Linked DNA regions of Homo sapiens: all the other regions are linked to region 3. Evidence: promoter capture Hi-C in human tissues and cell types (Jung and others, 2019). All regions are on one chromosome and are shown on one strand. The core of a region is centred on a gene start or on the middle of the fragment in contact, and the rest is flanking DNA. Distances in the headings are between cores, read along the strand shown. Region 1 overlaps NTRK2 (neurotrophic receptor tyrosine kinase 2). Region 2 overlaps NTRK2 (neurotrophic receptor tyrosine kinase 2). Region 3 holds the start of C9orf153 (chromosome 9 open reading frame 153).

Evidence for each region. The method cuts DNA at HindIII sites, captures the fragments that hold promoters and counts their contacts. A contact is called where the count stands out against the background at its distance.
Region 1: a contact is called between a fragment that was not itself captured here and the fragment with the promoter of C9orf153 in region 3, in 1 of the 25 tissues and cell types used here (dorsolateral prefrontal cortex).
Region 2: a fragment that was not itself captured here is called in contact with the fragment with the promoter of C9orf153 in region 3 in 1 of the 25 tissues and cell types used here (dorsolateral prefrontal cortex).

Annotation. Positions count from the first base shown.
Region 1 is chr9:84,871,752-84,875,811 of GRCh38, forward strand. All of the region lies in intron 14 of NTRK2 (neurotrophic receptor tyrosine kinase 2), which reads left to right. Among named protein-coding and RNA genes, the nearest start is that of NTRK2, 200 kb to the left of the region's middle. The HindIII fragment of the contact is 6,869 bases long and covers 1-4,060 here.
Region 2 is chr9:84,917,157-84,921,014 of GRCh38, forward strand. The region is part of intron 14 of NTRK2 (neurotrophic receptor tyrosine kinase 2); the gene reads left to right. Among named protein-coding and RNA genes, the nearest start is that of NTRK2, 250 kb to the left of the region's middle. The HindIII fragment of the contact is 4,235 bases long and covers 178-3,858 here.
Region 3 is chr9:86,258,407-86,262,728 of GRCh38, forward strand. C9orf153 (chromosome 9 open reading frame 153) reads right to left here and starts at 1,251. Exons shown (of 4, transcript NM_001276366.4): 1 at 1,144-1,251. It also overlaps the pseudogene RN7SKP264. The HindIII fragment of the contact is 6,872 bases long and covers 1-4,322 here.

The sequences.
Region 1 (4,060 bases), core at 1,379-3,878, 1.4 Mb before region 3:
GCACTTTCCAATAGCAAGTCTGTCTACTTTATTGCAGGGCCCAGAGGTTCCCCCAAGACCGCCTGATAATAATTTGGTATTTGGAGGCTCCTGTGTCACTGCAGGAACTAAAGGAGGCTAAATCCATGCCTGATGGAGGAGAAGAGTTCTATGGTTATCTGCAAATTCTGGCCAGACAACATCTTGACGTCACTCCTTAGCTTCCATAACCTAGCCAAGCAAGAAGTTGCCTTTCCAAGACAAAGCAGTGTGCTCTAATGACTAACCCCTCAAAGTACTATGCCACTTTAACTATAGACCCATCTCCTCGATCAATCAGGATGGCAAGATGGAGCTGAGGAGCTCAGCAACATCAAGTCTGGAGTTGGTCTTTAACTCAACTAGCTCGTTTAGACGTGTCTGAACACCACATCACCTGACAGCACGGGGTGGTTTCCCAGTAAAATTTACAAACTCAGCTCAAGGGCAGCTGTGTTGCTTTCCTTTCCTTGACTGCTGAGAAACTTTTTGACAGGGAACAATGGAAACACACCTTCTGAGCTGAAACAAACAAACAGAAACAAAACATACTAACCAGCAAAATCCCCAAATCATCAATCTTGGGTTCTCTTGAAGGGCAGGAGTGTGTTTTATCTTCTCCCGTCGGAGCAAACACTATAGATGTCCTCCCTAAAATTCTGTCTTCCCTAGAGCAGCCTTGTAAATTAGCTAGGGTCCTAGGGTTGAGGCCTAAATCAACTTAAAATTGTCTCTAAATATGTACCTGGATGTGTTTGTACTTGCAGAGCATGCCCTCTTCATGTGCCTAGGGCTAGTAACTCCCTGTGGCAGAGGCATGTAAAGTATTCTGACTTTTTTTTTTTCAACTTAATTCCATTTCCAATGAAATGGATTTTTAAAAATTTTCTCCAGAGTGTGCCATACTTCTCCAGCTATTATAGTTAATGTGTGTGTATCCTTGTGTATATGTGTGTTTGTGTGTGCATATGTGTTTTCCTAGTGGTTACATGCTTACTAGGCAATTATGTAAATAAGCACAGATTCATAGGCCAGCTAGGCCTGAGGAAAGAAGACATTATAAAGGGAGGGAGTATTTTAACATTAGCTAAAGCTATCACACAAGGCACCCATTCTGCTCCCCTCAACAGCCACAGCCCACTTCGTCCTTGTCTTACCAATAAGGGGAAAGGCTGGAGGTGATATTTTTCACAGAACCGCAGAGGTTTTGAACATATTTGCAACATTACTTTGAGTACACATGAGCAAAAATTCTGAATTACATCCAGGACCCCAGAAGCTCATTAGATCAAAGAGTGCGGGGCCCCTCAGAGTTACCAGAGATTATCTGCAGACTTCAGTGCAATCGAATGACCATGGTCCATTTTGATGGTCAGAGGTAGGACTGAAAAACGGGTAGAAACAATTGCTTTAGCGCTTCCTTCTGTACTTTGCCTATTAATGTTTTGTCTTTCAAAAATATATTTTCTCCTAATTGTTTAATTGGCCAAATAATGGCTGCTTTGGGAGTTGTTTGTATGCCTTGGAAGGCCATGGCCTGCACTTTAAAAATAAGCTAAGTCCATTCTGCCCAGCACGAGCATTAGGACAGAGAATGCACTTATTTTAGGATCCTTAAAAATTGCTTCTTTTATGGCACACTGGGTTGACGACTCATCTCGTGGGAGCCTTCATGGCACATTGCTGCTGTTCTGCAGGTCCCAATACAATTCCTTCCCCCTCTCAGTGCCACGGCCCCCCCATTGCTAGCTACAACAATTTGATATCATATTCCCTTTTCAACTCCAAAGGAGATGATAAGAAGCTATCAAATAATGCTTTAAAAAAGCAACTTGAGTTTCTTAAAAGAAAGGAAATGAATACATGCTGCATAATTACATTTAAAATGTAAGCCATGTTATTATAAGCCGCACTGAGATGAAGATTTGTTAGCAAACCAGTTTCAAGCACACTCACAGTGAAGTAAAATCATGTTTTTAGCATCTGACCATTGGGTAATATTATTCTTTGTTATCAAAAGAGAAATATCACCCAAGTATAGTATACTTAGACCTCCTAGAGGAAACACTCCAGTCCTAAGCTTGGTGTCTGAAAAGAAAAACAAAAATAAAGATTATGGATTTAGGTCAGGGAGACAGAGTGATATTCTGAAGACTGTGTTTACTCCCTCATCATCGGCCAACCAAGATGGAGTTCTGCATCCTGCACATATCAGACATTTCAGTCCAATTTCACCAAAGCATCAGTGATGTTCTAGAAGCATCCCAGCAGATGGAGGATCCTAATGTATTTGTTCTGGGTATTTCCCAAGGCCCAGCCTGACTGGAGTGTGTGTACCAACAGGATGAATCCAATCAAGCTACGCCCCCATTTTGGTTTCGGATTGGCCACTCTTGCATGTGCTAGTAGATTGTGGACCAGGACCAGCTGAGCAAACACAGTTGCAGAGTAGCCTCCTATGTTGCTAAGAAGCTCCTGCTACCCAGGTGCTTTGAACAATTGAGTGCTCCCTCTGGTTAAGTAGAGATGGCACCACCGGAGTTTTTCTTGGATGTGAGGCTCAATCCTTTACGGCAGCTATTATAACAAAGTGAAGGTTTTCTCCCTGGGAAATGCAGCTTTTCTCTGTCTTTACTAATTCTGCCAGCCTGTGAGAGTAACCACCGTAGCTGGGCTTCTTCTCAGATTAATTGTCATGCCAGGTCTCCTTCCTGGGGAGCTGTGATGCTGCTCTGAGGTTGATTGCTGAGGTTGTAGTGGGTTTTTGTTTGTTTTTGTTTAGTTTTTCTTGATTGTTCTTCTTTCTCTTGAATGGCAAGAGAAGAAACACTTTCTCTAACCCACGGCCAGGAAGGAAATGGGGAGAGAGCTACTTCTTAGTTCAACCTGGTTGCCACATAAAGGAATCTCTCTCCTTGGACTCAGCCCCTAACTGGAAGCAAGAGCCACTGCCCTCTGAGACTGAGAGAGCAGCCCGAGGAGGAGATGAATCCATTCTGCCCTTTGTTTGGGTTTGCTTCCTGTCAGTGAGAGAATGCTGAGGCAGTTCCTGTTATGTGAAACTTTCATTTTTAAAACCAGGACAGTCCTAAACAGACTGGAATGAGTTGGTCAATCCCAGTTGGTATAGGCCCAATGATTTTTGCTAGTAAGATAGGATTGTCTTCCTCACCCAAAATGCCTTCAAGTGCCCTAAAATGGGTATTTTAAAATAAGAATAAATAATGTAGATTTAGTAGAAAACCTGGAAAACATAAGAAACAAAGATGAAACGAAAAGTCCCATGTAATTCCACCAGTTAGAGTTAACCACTGATATCGTTTGGATATATGGCTTTCTAGTCTTGTGGATATCCTTTTAATCTCTTGTAATATAAAGTCTGACCATATGTGTCCTTGCATTTGTTTGTACTGGACTCTGTTAATATTTCTATAGTAATGGCTCACTTTGGGGAGATTGTGCTGCACAGTGTGTAGGAAGCACATTGGGTGTATTATTCCCAGTTTTGTATTTTGTATTTCCTTGGAGATGTGCAGGGGTTAAGAGCGGGGGTCTGGCCATAGCTGGCCACGTCAGACTCTCATATGGTAAGTATCACAGAGCACATGAGGCCTGTGTTATGCGCTGGAAAGACTCAGGAAATGAGAGGCTCTCTTGTTCTGACAAGGCAGGCTGAGAGCTCTCATTTAGGGTCATCACTCCAGATAACTCCAAATGCAGTTTATTGCTCAACTGAAGCAGATGATCACTTTTTGCCTCCAAGTTCTTCACCCTAGCTAGCTCCTTTCAAAGAGCCGAGTATGCTGGATCTTAAAGGGCCAAACTAGTTACATCTCATACATTTCCTGATGTTTAGGGATGCCTTCACTTCCATCAAGGATACCTTGGCTGTGCAAGGACCTCTGATAGCTGGAGTCTCCTTTTGGTCACTCCCAGCTTTGCTTAAACTTGATGGAGTTTGCTGTCCAGTGATCCCCGGATCTTTCATCATGAAAGCCTTCCTTCCTCTCCTGATGTCTCAGGCCTCTAGACCTAGACTGGG
Region 2 (3,858 bases), core at 1,045-3,544, 1.3 Mb before region 3:
TTGGCAGTCAATGGTGTCAGGTGAGACAAACCATTTTTGTACACCATCATACATTATGTAAGTGCATTTGACCCAAAATAAGTATTCCTCTTTCAAAGTTGTTTTTTAAATTGAGTATTGAATTTCCATGAAATAATACAATTAAGTTCTCAGGTACTTGGTTTTGATGATCGTTTCTGGGTTTCTGGAGTCTGGGATGGAGATCATTCTGGTGGGATGACAGCCCATAAGCACGTGTGCAGTGGAAGGAGCACTGGGCCGGGCAGCTTCTTGGTTGCAATGACAGCTGCATGGCATGGAGCATTGTAATGTTCAGTTGTAAGGGAGATGCTTTGAGGTGCTGAAGATATCATGACAGTGATCGAGTTTGTCCACAGCCCTCACAGCCCTTGGAGGAGCTCTGACTCAAGTGTTCTTGCCTAGGGAGTACTGGTTGTATAATTGCTGTTGACATTTCCGTGGTAAAAAGAGGTCAGTTCTGTTGGATTTTTCCAAGAGCAGGCAGCCTACTTTGTCCAAGCAGAGTAAATCTAAGAGTGACAATCTCATGCAGTTATTATCACATATAATGACAATAAAAAGAAAGGGTTTTTCCTAAATACAGTTCTGCACCCAGTGAAGCTTGTTCACTCCTCTGCTCAATGAGCCAACAAAACAGTCAGGCGCCAGAGAGAGAAAAATCCTGTTTGCATTGATTGCGTCCTGAATGCCTCTGCCCACCTCCTGGGAGGCAGCTTATTTCACACATCCTCATGACAGAGTAATGTGACTTCATTGACTGGCAAGCAGCTGTCAGTGCAGCCTGTGAGGTGTCTGGGTGTGCCCACACACCGAAATCAAGAGAGAATGGAAAGCACAGCACTGCAATTGAAATTTAAAGGGGAAGTAAGTCTTTATTACAATTGACTTACAAAAGTGGAGGCTGTAGCTATGTTCAAATACAATCACGTCTGTGAACCCACTTGTCAAGCAACAGAAAGGCACAGTTTTCATTCATTCATTCTTTTGCTTTGGAGCAGGGCTTCACATAACAGGTGCTGGAAAGGCAGTATCAGGAACCAAGACTCCAACAGCGCCAAGCAATCAGGTATTAGGAACTGGCTGGCCATCATACACATTGTCATATGCATTGATGTCTTCCTACCTCTTTTCTGCCTCCTTTGCCCCTGTCCTTTGCTCCACAATGGGGGCTTCTTTGCATCTGCTTCTGCACCTGTCTTCACCTGCATGTCCTTGCCTGACATGGGTCCAGTGAAAGGTGACACATGACCACACCTTCTGACATTAGATGCAGGGATTCACATACCATGACTCCATGGTTATTTGCACTGGGGAGGTCTGAAGGGGATCCACACAGTGTTTATGCATGAGTGTAATCTTTTTACTTCTGAAAAGCCTGGGATAGAAGACCAATGGATGAAATAAGGGATCTTTTATGACAAATTTATATGTTTTTTAACAAACTCTTTGCTTTGGCAACTCTGTGATCACTTAATTTGGCAGCATGGTTAAGGGAAAATATGATTGAGAAAGCTATTTATGTTCCTGAGAGTCATGTTGCGTATGGTAGCCGAGTGAATAATTCTTTCGTTCCGATTATAAAATCACTTGGCTGTTAGAATTTATAGCTTCCCTTTTATTTTCATCACTACCACTATAATCTAGAACTTCATGATAATGCTTTTATTAATGCAACAACCTTCTAGCTTGTTTCTCTGCTTCTGGGCACTTTCATTTAATACACCATGCATATTGCTACCAGATGATATGCTATTTAGATAATGCCATTCCCTCATTAAGGAACCTGCAATAGCTCCCATCTGCTTATACAATCAAATCTAGACCCCTTCATCTAACCTTCAAGCTCTCTATGGTCTGGTCCCCTATCTACACATACATTGAAACTTACATGCCACCACCTTGCGTCATACCCCTGATTGAGCAGAGGAATCCTAGTCCTACCACCCTGCCTCGGTGCCTTGCTATTTGCCTTTTTTTAAGATCCCTACTTTGCCTCTCTGCCCATTCAGATAAATACATTTTTCACATCTCACCTTAGACCCTTTTGTGTCTATAAAGCCTTTCCGATAGTTACCATCCACATCAGCTTCTTTCTTGAGTTCCTATCACTCTAGTAGGCAAATGCTTGGCACTGTTTTTAGTCTAGTTTCTTGCAGTGATATTAGTGTCTTATCTACAAAGCTTCATCTCCAGGATGAACTTTTTGCTTTCTTGATTCTTAGTCTCCAGAATGCCTAGTATGCTCCTCTTGTGTACAGAATATTGAACTTGGAATTGAAAGGCCAAGTTTAAGGCCTGGCTCTTTAACTGACAAGTCATGTAGCCTTGAATGGGCCCTTGACCTCTTTAAGCCTCTGTTCCCTTAGCTGTAAAATGGAACTCAAGATATTTTCACAGCCCATTTCACCGAGTCATTTTAATGCTCAAATAAAATTGCATGTGAGAGTACTTTATGAGCCTTCAAGTGCTGCGAGAACAGAAGGCCCCATTATTATTGTAGTTTGTCTGTAATATTTAACTTAAGTTGAACCAGGAAAATATATCTGTGAGCCATTGTGTAATCTTGAGGGCCAAATTGCTAAATAGCAGTGGCCGCACCATATAACATTTATTGTACATTTCATTGTTCAGAGTGCTTTTTATTAGGATTACCATTCTGTTCTCTCCAGTGCCTCATGAGGTTGTGAGGATCAGGTATTTTTATTCCCACTTTGCACCTAGAAAAAGGAAATCAAAGGGAACAAATACAGTAAGTGAATTTCTGTAAGTCACGTAGTTAGTTGATGGCCACAATTGAACTGAAGCTTCCATTCTGCCTCTTATTCCTTGCCTGAAAATTGTGGTCATTTTCAGTCTCCACTTTATCACCACCAGACCCCTGCCTCTAGGACGCTTTCCTCTGTGGTTTTCACTTTTCCTACTTTGTCTCATTGGTTCTTGTACAGCAAGGGTGGCTTTATATTGGCTAGCAAGGATCTCACTCCTGTTCATTTCATTATAATTACATTCACATTCATAAGGTGGAGGGACATTTTTTTTCTCTTTACAAATACTGTTGGTTGACTGAAGTAGTCTTAGGTTGGGGGACCCTAGATCAGAGAAGAGACCTGAGTTCAATGTTAGGTCCTCACTTTCTTTGCAGATGGTTTAATTCTCTTGACAGGTCAGGCTTTCCCTAGAGCCTTGTCCACGCGGGCGAGACTGAGACCTGTCTCTTTTTGGCCTAAGGATAAATAACAGGCTATCTGGTATGCTTCCAGACTGGATGTGGCAGTGCACACCACTCATCCAGTTGTCCCTCCTTTGTGCTTAAGCTCTTTCCCACTCCTTCCGTCTGTTGCACCTGCTGGCCCCAAGCCTGGAGCTATTCTAGCCTCCACCAAATGGGGCAGTCCTGCCTCTACTGCTGACTCCACTACAGCATGTTCTGAGGTGAGAATTCTTCTACTCTATGTTTCATGCATTAACATGGAAGCCATGCCCCCATCTCCCTTCCAGAAATCCGTTGAAAAATCTCATCCATTAGGACTTACATTGCCCTTCACTTCACCGTTATGGGTAAGAGGCCAACTGATGCCCTCACCTCACCAATCTAAAGGGATTTCTTCAATACCTTTCTAAGGAGGTGCTGCTGGAAGCATTAGAATCTTTCAGCCATCCCCACAGGGACAGTGTCATCAGCAGATTACTTCCTCAACTTCAGCATAAATTCCAGTATAATTTAACATTGGCTTATTCTTGAGTGAATTTTTCCAATATAATCTACTCGGAATATTTGATGCCATTTTAATACTTTAGACCATGCCAATCCCAGATGTAAATGGTTCATACTAACAT
Region 3 (4,322 bases), core at 1-2,500:
TTGAAGTAATTACTTTTAGAGAGCTTGTTTGGAGGTTCTAGCAGGGGAGTGCAGCTACTCATATACCCTTGCCCAAAGAACGGCCCTCCTCTGTTGGGGAAGGTTGTCCGCAGCGTCTGGAAGGACGCATGTGGACGGATGAGGGAGGAAGGAGACATCCACCTAGCCAGCCAGATCAGACAAATTAACCCTGGCCATCAGTGGGGTGACAGATGTTGCAGCCAGATCACCCTCACATCCGGAAATAATTGCTTTTAAAACGCAATATTTGAAAACCTGAATTTTCTTGGGTAAGCAACTATTATATTGCTAATTTAACGAAACTTTTTTTAAAAATATTAATATACTTAAATTTTAGAGCAATTTTAGAATTGGTTAGAAAGTACAATGTTCCCACAACCCCCCTTCTCTGCACCATACACACAGCTTTCCCCTTTTTTTTTTACTACTTATGTTTGTGTGGTACGTTTGTTATACTTGATGAGCCGGTATCAATGCATGGTTACTAACTAAAGCCCATACTTCACAGTTTACATTACGGTCCATTCTTGGTGTTGTGCATTCTATGAGATTTCACAATGTGCAATTACATATATCCACTTTGATAGTATCATACAGAGCAGTGTTTTTTTTTTTTCTTTGAGATAGGCTCTCATTCTGTCACCCCAGCTGGAGTGCAGTGGCGTGAACACAGGTCACTGCAGCCTCAACCTCCCAGGCTCAGGTGATCCTCCCATCAGCCTCCCAAGTGGCAGAGGAAAAACAAAGGACACTGGGTGTGAGGGAGAGGTGCAAAGTCAGGACCAAGCATCCATGGGAACACAGGGGAGGATGAAGGCACTGAGGTTGGGGAGAGAGAGCAGAGCTATCAGTGTTGAAGGCCGGAAAGGATGAGGGAGTCTGCAGGCTCGGCCCGATCAACTGGTTCCAGCTTCTGTGACCTGCCTGGAGGAAGATGAAACAGGCTCCTCATCCTTATTGGTAAAGATAAACCCAAATCCCATCTCACCTCCCAGCTCTGGTCTTCCCACCTTAGCCACTGCCCACCTCACTCCATCTCTCCTTGCCAAGCCTAGACTGGCTTAGTTTTCACTGCTCTGTGGTCTCACAGTGCCCCGTGGCTATGGCTGTAGATGCACTTACCACTTGTTTTACAGTTGTCTCTTCACGTGGTCATATCTGTCTTGAGTCTCTGCACTCCCAGGGCAGAGGCTGGGTCTCATTCATCCAGCAGCCCCAAGGCCCAGCCCCACTCCTAGCATGTGTCATTGCTTAGTGTTAAGTGACTGTCCATTGTGACATGTGGACATTCTCAAGGTCACATAAGCAGCTATATGATGCTAAGCGATGGGGAATTATCTTGCTGCTTGGTGGGGGGTGGGAGACGGTGGAGGATGATGGAAAAGCATTTTTAAAGAGTGAACATTGAGTAGCTGAGTAGCTACTTTTTTTTCTGCCTCAGCTTGTGGCTGGGACCCCGGGCGCACGCCACCACGCCTGGCTAATTTATGTATTTTTCTCTAGAGATGGGGTTTCGCCATGTTGCCCAGGCTGGCGTGAGTATAATTTTTTTTTTTTTTTGAGATGGAGTCTCACTCTGTCGCCCAGGCTGGAGTGCAGTGGCACGATCTCAGCTCACTGCAAGCTCCGCCTCCCGGGTTCACGCCATTCTCCTGCCTCAGCCTCTTGAGTAGCTGGGACTACAGGTGCCGTGAATGTAATTTTTAATCAGTCAAGTTTTTCCTTCTATAGACATGGGCAAAGTGCAAATAAGAAATTGAGAGAGATAATAGAAGGTACAGCTATGCTCTTTGCACCTGGCCAGATATGGGTAGAAGTGGACCAGGGGCTACCTGGCTGTGCAAATTCTCTCCATGAGCCATGCAGCCGTGCTCCAGACTCCATTCCCCACCCATGGGAGGTCCCTGTGGCAATCACTGAAAATTTTCCTGAAACAGCCATTTCCCCAGAATGCAATCTACTGGGCATTTAAATAGTCTGATTGAGTTAATAACTTGTGAACACCGTGGCAACATATCCATAACATGAAGCTTACCGTGTTAAGCCGTTTTAGGTACACAGTTCTGTGGCATTCAGTACATTCACATTGTTGTGCCACCTGCACTGCCTTCCATCTCCAGAGCTTTTTCATCTTTTCCACCTGAATCTGTGTCCATGAAATAAATTTCTCACCCCCTGTCCCCTGTCAATGGACACCTGGGTTGTTCCTACCTTTTGGCTATTGTGAATAATGCTGTTATGAACATGGATATACAAGAAAGTTAATAATTTTAAGCAGAATTTAATAAATACAGAAGATTCTTCCAATGAGAAAATATTTCAAAAGCCTGCCATTCAAAGGTGTTCTGCAGAGCAACAGCACTGGCTTCACTTGGGCCTTTGCTACTAATGCAGAATCTCAGGCTCTGCCCTGGACCTTTGTTACAGAATCTGCTTTTTTTTTTTTTTTGAGACAGTTTTGCTCTGTCACCCAGGCTGGAATGCAGTGGTGCCATCTCATGTCACTGCAACCTCCCCACCTCCCAGGTTCAAGTGATTCTCCTGCCTCAGCCTCCTGAGTAGCTGGGACTAGAGGCGCCCACCACTATGTCTGGCTAATTTTTGTGTATTTTTAGTAGAGATGGGGTTTCACCATGTTGGCCAGGCTGGTCTCGAACTCCTGACCTCAAGTGATCCACTCGCCTCAGCCTCCCAAAGTGCTGGATTACAGGCGTGAGCTACCTACTGCGCCCGGCCAAGAATCTGCTTTTTAACAAGACCCCCAGGTGACTTATTTGCACCTTAAAGTTTGAGGACTGCTTCAAGACATAGAATCCATGGAGAACAAAAAATGAGTACTTTATTTTTTATTCTTTTTTTTTTTGAGACAGGGTCTTGCTCTGTCATCCAGGCTGGAGTGCAGTAGTACGATCTTGGCTCACTGCAACCTCTACCTCCTGGGCTAAAGTGATCCTCTCACCTTGGTCTCCTGAGCAACGGGGACTACAGGCATGTACCACCATGACCAGCTAATTTTTGTATTTTTTGTAGAGACGGCGTTTTACCACGTTGCCCAGGCTGGTCTTGAACTCCTGGGATCAGGTGATCTGCCCACTTTTGCCTCCCAAAGTGCTGGGATTACAGGCTTGAGCCAACACACCTGGCCCAATAAATGGGCACTTCATCATGAAAAGTTTCGGAATCACTAGCTAGTGGAAGTAAAAGCAGTAACCCATCAAGGCCCTCAAAGTAGGCTAGTTTTAAGCTGAGTACCGCTGGTACAGAGCCCTTGCCCCGCTAAAGGTTGGTGTGAAATGAAGCCTTCCCTGAACACTGCACAGCAGCAAGGGAGGATGGGAGTCCACAGTGATGTAACCACCACATGGCTCTGTATTTCAATAGAGGCTGAGGCTAGGGTGCACCTCCCTCTCTCCTCCATCTCTTGTCTGATGAGACCCACCTGGGACCAGGAGATTGAGTTCCTACTGGGGAATGAGCTTTCAAAACAGCTCCTCAATTAAGGCAGGTTTGTCTATAGTTAATCAGCTACTAAGAGAATGAAATTTCTCCGAATGTTTATATTTGAAATTTATGGTTCTTTTCAAAGAAGTTACTGTGGTCTTTTATTTGAAGGAAATACAGCAAATTTCCCCCAGATTTGAATATGGGACAATAACTCCCTAAATGTGTTGAAACTCTTTCCCTAAGCTCTTGCTTTGATTGATAATCCATTAACATATTATCCCTTTTTGCACAAGAAAATGGCTAAAAGGGACAAGAATTACAACGTATGAAACGTCTACCCTTAGCAGGATGCCATTTATGTGTAGTTAGCTCATCACATCCCCCCAAATTCTGAGACTGTTTTACAGAAGGTTACATGGCTACAAAATGACAGGAACCATGATTCAAATCCAGGCATATCTCACCCCAAACCTACACCTTTCCAGGCCAGCCTCCCAGCCTGCACTGAGCTCAGGTGAGCTGTATTTGGGTTTATTCTGGGTCGATGCTGTGTCTGGCCCATGCCACGTCTGCTCTAAGGCTCAAATGAGACACTGATGTTGCTTACAGCTCAGCTTAGCACAGGCTTTTCCATTTCCTGATTTCTCAGGTATCAAAACATGACAAGAAAGGCCATTTTTTTTTTGAGGTATTTCCTGCTGAGTGAAACCTAGGAAATACTGGAAATCTTAGGGACATCTGATCTTGTAGGGATTGTTCCCAACCCTTTCCTGTTTGAGAAAAAAAAAATCATTCTGGTGGGTCCGGTGACAGAGGGCTGGGAGGCGCCCTGCAACAATGAAGCACAGCAGGCCTCT